Linked DNA regions of Homo sapiens: all the other regions are linked to region 3. Evidence: promoter capture Hi-C in human tissues and cell types (Jung and others, 2019). All regions are on one chromosome and are shown on one strand. The core of a region is centred on a gene start or on the middle of the fragment in contact, and the rest is flanking DNA. Distances in the headings are between cores, read along the strand shown. Region 1 overlaps LOC101927314 (a long non-coding RNA gene). Region 2 overlaps LOC101927314 (a long non-coding RNA gene). Region 3 holds the start of KLHL32 (kelch like family member 32).

The links. The method cuts DNA at HindIII sites, captures the fragments that hold promoters and counts their contacts. A contact is called where the count stands out against the background at its distance.
Region 1: a fragment that was not itself captured here is called in contact with the fragment with the promoter of KLHL32 in region 3 in 2 of the 25 tissues and cell types used here (dorsolateral prefrontal cortex and heart left ventricle).
Region 2: a fragment that was not itself captured here is called in contact with the fragment with the promoter of KLHL32 in region 3 in 1 of the 25 tissues and cell types used here (hippocampus).

What each region holds. Positions count from the first base shown.
Region 1 is chr6:97,668,501-97,672,318 of GRCh38, reverse strand. The region is part of intron 3 of LOC101927314 (a long non-coding RNA gene); the gene reads right to left. Among named protein-coding and RNA genes, the nearest start is that of MIR2113, 350 kb to the left of the region's middle. RefSeq lists an enhancer at 3,252-3,818. The HindIII fragment of the contact is 3,426 bases long and covers 1-3,102 here.
Region 2 is chr6:97,652,875-97,656,999 of GRCh38, reverse strand. The region is part of intron 3 of LOC101927314 (a long non-coding RNA gene); the gene reads right to left. Among named protein-coding and RNA genes, the nearest start is that of MIR2113, 370 kb to the left of the region's middle. The HindIII fragment of the contact is 7,031 bases long and covers 1-4,125 here.
Region 3 is chr6:96,923,325-96,927,176 of GRCh38, reverse strand. It overlaps KLHL32 (kelch like family member 32), which reads right to left and starts at 2,449. Exons shown (of 11, transcript NM_052904.4): 1 at 2,151-2,449. RefSeq lists a silencer at 2,413-2,722. The HindIII fragment of the contact is 13,841 bases long and covers 1-3,852 here.

The DNA of each region.
Region 1 (3,818 bases), core at 140-2,639, 750 kb before region 3:
AGTAAATTTTTACATAAGATGTTTCTGTGGTTCAGTCACATTGTCTATCCCCAACACATCCCTTATCTTTATGTCAGGTTCACAACTACACCAAATGTCATGCTCAGGGTCAGGTCCAGGCCCATGCTGAGGTCCGAGGGGAGTGGGTGGATGGGCAGATAGCTGAAACAACACTCGGGTGGGGGTGGGTGTAGGCAGGTGAAATGTACTTTCATTCAGCAGCTCTTTCATTAGCAGCTTTCTCACACTAGTCCTCTCACACTGTGAGAGGAGGCAGAGGTTGCAGTGAGCCAAGATGGTGCCACTGCACTCCATCCTGGCTGACAGAGTGAGACTCTGTCTCAAAAAAAAAAAAAAAAGTAAATTCTTGAACACATTCCAGACCTTTGAATCACAAACTCTGAATGGGATCCAAAAATATCTTTCACCTAATATTTCTAGCTGATTCCAAGTGTTTGCTCAATTATGGTTTGTATAGAACCATTATATAAAGGAATATCCAAAGCCTTACTGGAAACTGAAGAAGCTTAGTAGCAAGGTCTAATTTTCAACTACAGTTTGAGTTCTTTGCAGACCATTGAAATAATTACAGTTGCTTTTGCTCAACCTCACAGGAGTCTCATGAAGACTGGATAAGTATGGATGTGTCATGATTAAAGCAAAACATGTGAGGTATGATGGCCTGAGTTGAAGGACTGTTATGCCCTATTACTTACATATTCCTGAGAATATGTATTTCACATCTCTTAGCCTTACCTTCCTCTCCTGTGAAATGAAGTTAATAATACTTAGCTCATAGCGTCATTGGGAAGACTGAGGAGGTTATGAATTTAATGACATCTACAGTAGTACTTAGCATTTAGTATGCATCAATAAGTGTTTGGTGCTGATGCCTTTACGGCTAAAATTTTCACTCTGACCTCTCTAACAGAGATGTCATCTCCATTTCAAAAAGCAAGTTAAAGGCCAAGGGCCAAGGATTGAGAAAAGATCCTTGAGAAAGGACTGCATTTATTGTGAATGGAAAGAAATGGTTCATAACTCCTCCTTTTCTCCTTATTTCAAGAAACTCCTGAAATCTTATCTTGTCCATAAAACCTTCCCATTTCTTGCTTCTCTCTACATCGTACACTTCTATGATGATTCTAACTGTTCCCTCTACTCTCTTCACTGACCCATTGGCATAGAATGTTATTTGCATGCAATTGTTAATTTAGTTTATACACTTAGCTAGTGGCTGTCTTCTAGTCTTTGTGCCTTGTGTGTAAAACTTTGTTAATTCTATATGTCTTAGAGAAAAAAGCTCCCTGGTAGCCTAGGCTTGCTTTTCTTGCCTCTCCATTTGCATAATGTTGTATAGCACCATGTAAATACAGATACTTGATTAATGGTTTCTGACAGATGCTATCAAATAAAATATCAGTACTGCAAAATTATAAATGTATATAGTTCTTCTAACCATAATTTTGATCCTTTTTTTCTAAATCCACATAATTTCACTTTGTCTTGAGCTATACTCCTTGGTGCACTGTAATTTGAATAAAACATACACCTGAAAGATCTACTTAAGAGGAAAAAGACATAAAAACTAAATTGAGAAGCTAAATCAGGCTATTAAAAATAATCAATATTCCCCCATGGGATATCTTCTCTCTCCCTTGCTTCCTCCCTCCCTCGTGTGTGTGTGTGTGTGTGTGTGTGTGTGTCTGTGTCTCACAATGCTTCCATAATGCAACATCCTAGAAAGAGGTGATTGTCAGGATAATAATCTTTATATCACCTATCACCTAACATGTTTATTATCACTTACCTTTATTTAAATACGCAATAGTGAAATGAGTTCATCTGCACCCATCCCTTTTAGTGCAGATTTTTGGTTTGCCCTTAGTATAGCCAAGAAAGAAGATCCCAGCTGGTAACTTTCTCAAAAAGAAAAGAAGAAATGATTTGTAATGGACTGAGCTCAGGGTAAAATGTCAGGTGATCCTGATTTTTTGGGTTACAAAAATCCTTCAAACTTTAAGCTGCTACTAGCCTTGTAGAGATTCTGAACCACTGGAGATGTTAAGTAGAGATTCAGCAGAACTGAAGTATCTTCATGGATTTTATCACTTTGTTGTATAACTGAAACTATAGTTACCATCAGTCACTGTTATTTTATTTCGTGTGTGGTGTGTGTGTGTGTGTGTGTGAGAGAGAGAGAGAGAGAGAGAGAGAAAGAGAGAGAGAGAAAGAGAGATACATTTTGGTCATTTTATTTAAAAATAGTTCACCTTCAGAAATAGAAATATGGGATCTATTGATAAACAATGGTACCACTACGACTCTTAAAATTCAAGAAAACAATTAATTACACAAGAAGAGCTACCCTAAAGTTCTCTCCAGAGAGGTCCCAAAGTCAAGATAAAAAGTCTGTTGTTGGGGACATTTTCAGCATAACCTTCTCCTGGGCAGAAAAATGAGTCACTGCCCATATTTCTCAGTTAATATTTTCTTGCCTTATTTTAATGTAGGAAAATACAGAAACGATCTACAGCTGTAAGAATGTGAAATATTCGGGCATCATTCGGGGTTCTCATATGACAAGATTTATCAATCTTTAAAATGCTCAAAAGGCTGTGAGAACAAAAACTGTCAAACACAATCACACAACGGGGCTCCACAGCACCAGAAGAAATTAAGTGAGGATTTCACCAAGTAAGCTGCTCCTTCACACACTCACAGCAGCCAAGAAGAAACAGCAAGCGCTGCGGAGTTGGAAAAAACCTTGCCTCACATGTGGAATAGAACGACACCTACATAGAAAAATAGCGAGCTGGTGCAGTTATCGGCACTGACATTTCAGCTCAACTCCCTCCCTCCCTCTCTCTCTCTTTCCTCCTCAGTCCCACGGGCAGCTGCGGCATTGACAGAAGGCCTGTGTCAGTTTCCATCTGACTGTCACTCTCACTTCTGCCTCTATTATCAGCAGTGCACTGGGGCAGTCCCCGCTTGGAAGGGCTGCTGATCTCTATCTCTCCACTCTACGCTGCCCCTGCCATGAACCTGACTAAGAAGGAGCCAGCCAGAGAGAGCAGGGGGGAAAGGCTGTGCTCTGGGAAAGGGAACTGGGGGAGGGAGGAGGCGGGCGGTTGGGAGGGAAGAGGATGAGAAAAGAAAAGAGAGAAAAACCAACCAAAAAAGGTTAGGGAGGGTAGGGGTGGGCCAGAGGGTGGGGGCGGTAGCGAAGAGGAACAGACCGAGATGAGTGGGGGGCACTGATACAGTTTGGGTCCTTTTCTTATTTTTCCTATCCATTCTCCAGCGTTCAGTCTTTTGTGTCAGCTTTCAGAAATGCTCTGTTTGACTGGCAGCCTGTCACAGATCAGTTACCACCTAAAGCCGCTTGGCAGCGAGAGGTGACGGCCCAGGAAGGGATCTAAGTGGGTTTATCAGTGCTTCTTTACGCCTCGTGAGCTCCTTGACACAAAAGGAAAGGGTATTAAAGATCTAAAGCGAGCCCAAAAGCGTGAAAGCTCCTTATAGGCTGCAGGATGTGGATGTGACTAAATTTTTAAATATTTTGAGTTGATGCTATTCATTTTGCCAATAGAGTAGAAAGAATTTTTGTTACAGAAATGAGTGTATGTTCCACTTGAGTGAGATTTGGAAAAGGGAGGAAGTCCCTAAAATATGTGCTTAGAATATTACAACCGCCCTGTATTTAAAATCATGCATCTGTTTTGAATATAAATAAAATGAGACGCATTTTAAATAAAAATTTAACATTTACATGATTCAAGTTCATTTTAACATTACAGATTTCACTTTTTATGTTT
Region 2 (4,125 bases), core at 926-3,425, 730 kb before region 3:
TGCACATAGGCTAGGAAACGTTTCCCAGCTTTGGGTTTGTTTTGTTTTTTGCTGCTTCAGGATTCCAGTGCAATGTCTCTGACCCTCTGATCACTTGTAAAACCCCTCGCCCTTGTCAACTATGACCAACAATTAGGAACTCTGCATGGAGGATCCTCCTTCCCTCCTGTTACATAGTTAGTCCTTGTTTTCTAATGTTAGCCGTGCAAAACGATATATCTTTATACAATAGGCAACCACTTAGGAATCAATTTGGTGGTGTTTTATTCCTTTTATACTACTTTCAAGTAATTCAATTAGCTTTAAAGAAAAAAGCATTCTACTTCTGGTTAAGAGCCTAGACCTAACCAAAATTCTTTTAAAACAAGCTAAAAGTCTTGTGTTACTATTAATACCTAAAAAATAATATTAGATCTCCAAACAAAAGCATTGCTTCTCTGTCCAATTTGATGTCTTTTTCATGCTGCCTCAGTGATGGCCAAATAATTGGTTGTTCACTTGTGTCCTTGTCTCCCCCGACAGTTCCACAGATGCCCTGAACAATGCTCCAAAGACTGCTTTCAGTAGGGGCAAATCCTCATTAATCATTCCTGGCTGACAGCACAAGGGGACACCTGCATCTGGTGCAGAAGCCCAGCCATAGTTCAGGGGAGTGTGGATCAAAAACCAACCCATGCAAGGTATGGGAGACTACTTTTAACAGGAATGTGAAAAACAACAACCACACACACAATCCAAGCAACAAAAACAAATCCTCTTTTGGCATTTCCATTTATTTAATATCTCAGACTGAAGCTGTGGTTCATGTTGCCACTAAAACACCATTCTACTCTAAGCAAGTATATCAGAGAACTAACCACACACAGAGTTATGATAAATGGCTACTAAATTCTTCATGCTCACATCAACCAATGTTAGCATTAAATACTGATAAACTGTCACATAATTTTCATTTAGAAATGATTTCAGTTTCAGCTTCCTATCTTATGGTGCTCGTAAATATTTCCCCTACTATATTTCACAAGTAGAATGTATGAAATATACACATTTTTAGCAAGAGCTCTTGGTCCTATGTGATTGCTTTCTTTTATTGAAATAATAAATATTTCTATTTTTAAAGGGTTAAAAAGAATCCAGGCAATACACCCAGGAAATTATGTATATCATTATGTACTATTGCAGCTGTTTTAACTTGCTTTTTGAATAAAATGAAGCATTTTTGTACTTTTACAGAAGAGTTTTCTCTCACTTGTCATTATTTTTCTAATTGTATCCCTTAGAGAAAAGACCATAAATAATGAACCCCAATTCATATCTCATAGTTTTGTCTTAAGTAAAACTAAATATGTTTGTAGAGTACCAGAAAATAAAAGACTAGTAGTTAAAATACCTAGGAGACTTAGGGAATACAATACATCAAGGAATTACAACAATAAAAAAAGGAGGTGATAAGCAAACTAAGAGACCTGCAAATAAAAGTGATAAAAGACTACAAAGATTAATCAAGTTGATGTTTATGCTGCTCAGTTTGTAAAAACAAATACAGACTTTTCTGTATGTTGGAGATTAATTATAACTATTATACATATAAAATTTAAAAGTTAAACATCAATTGATATACTACAATTTATAGTAAGTCCATATTGGAGATCTTTGGTTTGAAAATGTAATTAAGTTTCGAAGTTCTAGTTTTAAAAAAAATACATAAGGGCAATGTTGTAAGTTGGATAGAAGCTAAAGGTCCCCAAAGTGAAAATTTAGTTTGGGTTTAGTTTGGATATTTAGAATAATTTAGATATAAATATTTAGGGATTTTAACAGACAAATAATCTTGGGAAAATTATACTTCTCAAGTCATTATAACATCCCTTAACTTCATTATTTACAAACATATTTAATTTAAAAGAATGTCTACAAAGCTGAAGATGGAAGAATGGACATGAAGATAAAGAGATAACAGCTTAATAATCAGCAGAGTATTCAGTGGTAGTAAATACTATTTACTACTATTGAAAGGCTATGCAAGAGACACTTCCAGTATCCCAGAGAAGTTCAAACTGCCATTCTCTTCAACTTTGCTAGGGCCTGTCCCATTGCAAGGACACAGCCACCATGTAGTGGAGCTCTTTGCCTAAGGTACGCTTCCGTCCTTTATGGATGCCGTTGGTAACACCAAGAACTCCAAACCTGTACTGCACCTAGCTAATTAAGTGTAGTGGCCCCATATTCTGCTTAGAGACCTTTCTGGGTTTTGTACTTTTTTCTTCCATTATAAACAAGAATTATGGCATGTACACTCTTCATTAGGAGCTATGGAAACATAGCCAAAAGTGCCCTCAAGCATATTTTAGTTAAAGCTTGGGAAGAAGACACTAACCCCTTCTTATACAGAAAACATAATTGTAAGGAGGAAAACAGAGGCAGAAATAAGAAAGGGGGGAGAGAAGAAGGGAGGGAGCAAAAAAAGAGGATAGTTGTAAAATTCTTTGCATAACCAATCTCTGGGTACTCTGATTACGGTCAAAGACATTTTTTTTTCCACAGATGACTTCAACTTTTCCCAATACTAAGATATGAAGAATAAGTAACTAGCAACTAATTTTAATTAAACATTAATTCCATGGAAGGCACTTTTTTCTGAGACCGAGTCTTGCTCTATCACCCAGGCTGGAGTGCAGTGGCGCGATGTTGGCTCACTGCAGTGGCACAATCTTGGTTCACTGTAGCCTCCACCCCCCGGATTCAAGCAATCCTCCTGCCTCAGCCTCCTGAGTAGCTGGAACCACAGGCACGGGCTGCCACACCCAGCTAATTTTTGTATTTTTAGTAGAGAAGGGGTTTCATCATATTGGCCAGGTGTTGATCTCCTGACCCTGTGATCCGCCCACCTCAGCCTCCCAAAGTGCTGGGATAATAGGCATGAGCCACCGCTTTTGTGTGGCTATCCTATTAAATCCTTACAACATTCTTTTAAAATACATATCATTATCTCAATTTTGCAAATGAGGAAATTGAGAATCAAGAAGGTTAAATAATATGCCCAAGTCACAAAGCCAAAGTAAAGCCAGGTTTCAAATTAGATCTGCCTTTCTCAGAAGCACATATTCTTTCCACAAAACCATACTATGTCAACAATTTATTTCCACATCTCTGGATTGAGTCTAAAAGCCTCCCATCTGTCCACTGAGGCAAATCCTCAAATTTGTGGCACATGAGCTAATTTTCATTTGGTTTTCATGTGCTCATGACTCCATCCCTCCCATACTCAACTAGCACCTTCCCATTCATTCTTTGTGTCTCAGCTTAGTGTCACCTCACTAGGATATTTTCTCCTCATAATTGCCCCTAAAGTATCCTTCAACAACTTTTGCATTATAGTATTTTTCACAATGTATTGCAATTGCCTGTTTACTTATCTTTACTGTTCTCTAATCTCTATTCCCAGGTACTGGAGAGTATTTTATCCAGCATAGCTAACAACTATTTCTGGAAGGAAGGAAGGAAGGAAGGAAGGAAGGAAGGAAGGAAGGAAGGGAGGAAGGGAGGGAGGGAGGGAGGGAGGGAGGGAGGGAGGGAGGGAGGGAGGGAGGGAGGGGAGGGGAGGGGAGGGGAGGAAGGAAGGAGTAGAAGAAGGGAGGGGTGACTTGTAAAAAGACTATTACAAATATGTTAGCATGTGAAAAAATTGGAACAAAATAATTGTACTACCTCAAGAAAAGATCAAGATTTGACTTCACATTTCAATTTGAATTTGAGATGTTTATTTTCTTTTGTTCTAAAATGCCCAAGGAAAATAGTAGGGGCATGTCACCTTGGATTATCAATATGTAAAGAAGTACTAAAATTTAGATTTAAATAGTCATTCAAAAATAAGCTGCATTTATGAACCAGCTGAGACATTTGTAGTTACCATTGTAACTGGTAATGTTGCTTTCTTGGAAATTTATATTTTTTATATTTAGTGATAAATATTTTACAGACTCTAGTATCATCGTCTTTTAAACCTTATTCCAGTTAATTAAATAAACCTGAAGCAGAGCTTTTCTAATTCATTTTTCAAACACAATAGAAGACCCATTAAAACATTGTTATTTATTACACATTTTCATATATATCATTAAGTTA
Region 3 (3,852 bases), core at 1,200-3,699:
ATATGCTTTTGTTTCACCAGATTCAAAAATTCCTATTTTAGAGCACTTCATGGTCTTTTATTTTCTGAGATATAAGACAGAGATCTAGAAAACCTCAAAAAATTTTTGAACCTGTTTATTGAAAAACAAAGGTAGAGCATTTATTAGACTTTAATATTGAAATAAAAAACTGATCACTCACAATGATGGATGTATTTTTTCACATCAGTATTTTGTTAGAGAATACTAACTTATAATTGAGTGAGACATCAGTAATTATGGGTTGCTAACTAGCAGGCCACAGGCTAGATATGACCCAGATACAATTTTTAATGTGGTCCTTACAGTTTTTAAAATTAAGGATACCTCATAAAAAAAATCCAGAAGCTTCTGTTTTCCTTAAAAAACTGTCATGTTTTAGAGCCTGGACAGTAACAATCGGCTACAGTGGAGTGGGAGCTGCCTCCTTTACAGTGGTTTGCAAGTTCCAGAGGCCACAGTTCACACTCCACTCCCTACCCTCTCTCCCACGTGTCTTGTCTAGGCCTGCTCCACTCCTTTATCTCACTTGTCAGATCCCTGCACACATCTGAAACGCACACACAACTTTTTTTTAAAGGCAAGGAGACTGGATCCAGAAAGGGCTTCCCCATTCACTAGCTGTGACCTTCAGCAAGGTTTGAGTCTTGGGTTCCTCAGCTTTAAATGGAAGGTAATTTATTGGCCTCAAAGGGTTGTTGTGAGGATTAAAAAAGAAGTATATGAAAAGTGCTTTCTACACTGTAATGTAAAATGTTTGTCATCATTCATCTCCCAAAGCTCTGTGAATTGCATAAATCCCCTCTATCTACCTCTGTCATTATTTGGCTTACTTGCTCCTCACATTATTTATTACACTCTCTATGACAGAGTTTAAAATCTAAATTAGAAGAATTTGACTTATTTCCTTGGGTCATTTAACAAGAAGTAGAAAAGATGAACAAATATCCAAGGAAAACAAAATTAATTCTTGAATGCCAGTGGATCTTTACTGGGCCATTTGTTTGTGATGGAGGCATGAAATTCGTGCAAAGTGTAATTACTGGATTGCTGATGCCTTCAAGTACTGTGTTACAAGTTCACCCAATAGACACCCGAGACCTCAAAATAAAACAAAACTGACAGCCCAGGTATTAGGCTGACCTGTTCCATTGGCCTATCAGTGTTCCAGTAGAGGACCCAGTCCCATCAGAAAAAAAACAAAAAGCAAAAACCACTGCACTTTCATATAAGCTCTAGTAAGCCATGGCACACATTTTATATCTATCTCTATCTGTGTATAGAGATAGATCTAAAAATAATCAATAAGAGATTTTTTAAAAAACAGAATCTTCTCAGAAATGAGCAGAGGTGCAAAAAACTGCGCTTCAATACTGATGCAGGGGATATAAAAATGCTAGCAAAGATGTATGTCATGAATGCTACCTTCTTACGTTACGAATTCACAAACGTATTCCTGTTCTGGTCAATTTACAATAGAAGCTCATTCTTGTGTGGGGAAACACAATTAAATCATCTGCTTTTAATTTAAAATAATCACGACTAAGTGAACTGCAAAATAAAACTGGAAATAGAGGGGAAGAAGGGATCTAAACTGCAGTCATCTTTCTTTATAAGATCACCAAAATGGGAGTAAATTATGATTCAAGACACAATCCGTTGAAAAATTCATCTGACGAATCCTTTTTAAAGCATACCATATAGTGCAATTACGGCTTTTCTTGAAGTTGAATGAAACCGCCACCTGAATACAGATTAACAAATGCCAAATTACGAAAGGTCCTCAGTGTATATTTTATTTTAAATATCAAAATAAATAACGGCATCATTTAAGAAACCAGTTCTTTCAATAGATGTCCCACGGCTGATGTTTAAGCAAGTCTCCTTGGCAACCAAGGAGCACAGTACATATTGGGCTCAGGGGGAGGGAAGAAAGGGGGAGCGACTCCAGGGCTGGCAGCATAAGTAACCTGAGTAGTGGCTGCTCCCGTTAGACGACACGGGCAGAGGCTGCATGGGCTGCAAGCCCCTGAAATGTCAACTCCGGGTCTGCCCCCACTTGGCGCACCAGCAGCCTCCCACCCTCTTCCTCAGGTCTGCAGAACAGGTTACAAGGAGAGAGACTGGCTTACCCGATGGGGTGAGCGGTCTGCTGGGTTAGGTGCCAGAGACGGCAGCGCAGGCACCGGCCTCTCCTTGATGCACAATGGCTCTGCTTCGCCCCACGATGCTGAGGTTAACAGAACCCGCAGTAGCTTCGCTCTGCTGGTTCGGGGATGCAGTAGCGAAGACGAGCGTCCTAGCGTGTTTGTGTGTGCGAAAGTGTGTGTGTGTGTGTGTGTGTGTGTGTGTGTGTGCCTGCGTGCGTGTGTGCGCGCGACTGCCTGCGCGCTCCCGAACTGTCGCGCGGGGAAACTGCTCCCTAGTAAATAAAAAGCCCTAGCCAGCACTGCAGGTGGCACGTCCCGCTGACTCCGCCCCAGGCGGTCGCGTCAGACTGGAGACGCACCTTGGCACCCCCGGGGCGGGTTCAGACGCCACAGGGCTCCGCCCCCTCCCGCCTCCAGCTAGCCCGCGCGCTCCCTCCCCCTCCCCCGCGATCCCGCGCACATCCTTTCGCCACCCCGCGCGCAACGCCACCGCCCGCCGCCAGCGCGCTCGCTCCCCTGCCGCCCCCCGCCCCCGCCCCCGCCGTCGGCGAGCTGCCAGCGCGCGCCCGCCGGTCCCGGAAGTACCCTCCTCCACGCCGCCCTCCTCCTCGCTCTCCGGCACCTGCGTCGCCGGCCCCTGGGTCACATGCGCAGTCTGTAGCCACCACTGCGGCGACTGAGACCCGGGAACCCAGCCTGCTCGCCCCCAGACTCCTTTCCCAGGGCTGGCGGGCAATCTGAGCAAACAGACCCCGTGGCCCTAACTCGGTGTTCCAGGGAGTCCTTGCTCTGCTAACTTGTGAAGTTCAAGTTGCCTCTAGTCCTAGCGGCCCTACAGTGGCCCTCCTTAGGATAATACACTCTATGGTACTGACCAGAACAAATTCACAGTAACTTTAAGAAACGTCAGGGGAACCAACCCGCCAGAGGTGGACGAAATCCCCAAGCCTGAGAAATGAGAAAGGGTGTGATTACTGTGGTTACTACTAATTCAGCAATAAAACCGCAAACAGACAACAACCACAGAACCATACCATTAAATTCCAGGGCCTGGCACACTCAAGTGCCACTTCCGAGTCATTCAGGTCACTCCTGTGTAAAACATGCTGAGAAACTCACACTAAAGCAAAGTGGGTAATTTTAATAGGTAAGTATTCCACCACCGAATTGAAAACCTTAGTCCAACGTGGAGGTAAGACACCAGAAGCAGGAAGAGTGTAACTAAATTGGAGTAAACTGTATTTTGTAGAAGTTCAGGATTTAACTTACTGCAAAGATAGTATGTTAATCCTATTTCTTGCAGGTTTATGTTCTGCCACAGAGTTGGGCTAGGAACAGTGCCCTGATCTATTTTGAGGTGTCCTTAATGTTCTCATTGGTCTCAAATCAGTGGTTCAGCGATTATTTTCTACTTCTAGATCCACAGGATTTGGGGGTTTATTCGTTTGCTCCCTCTGGAGGTTATCTGTCTGGCTTGTAGTGCTTCATTTTCATGGTTTTGATATCTGGACGCTAGGATGCTGGGTACCTACTTATCTAGCAGTCCTGGACACAGCATAGGACAAGGGAAAGAATGACAAACAACTGACTACAAACATTAGGTGCAGTGTCATCCTAAGAATTTTTCATAAGCAACTTGATAGTTTTCATTGCGTTGTCTTCTATCAGAAAATCGAATATGAAA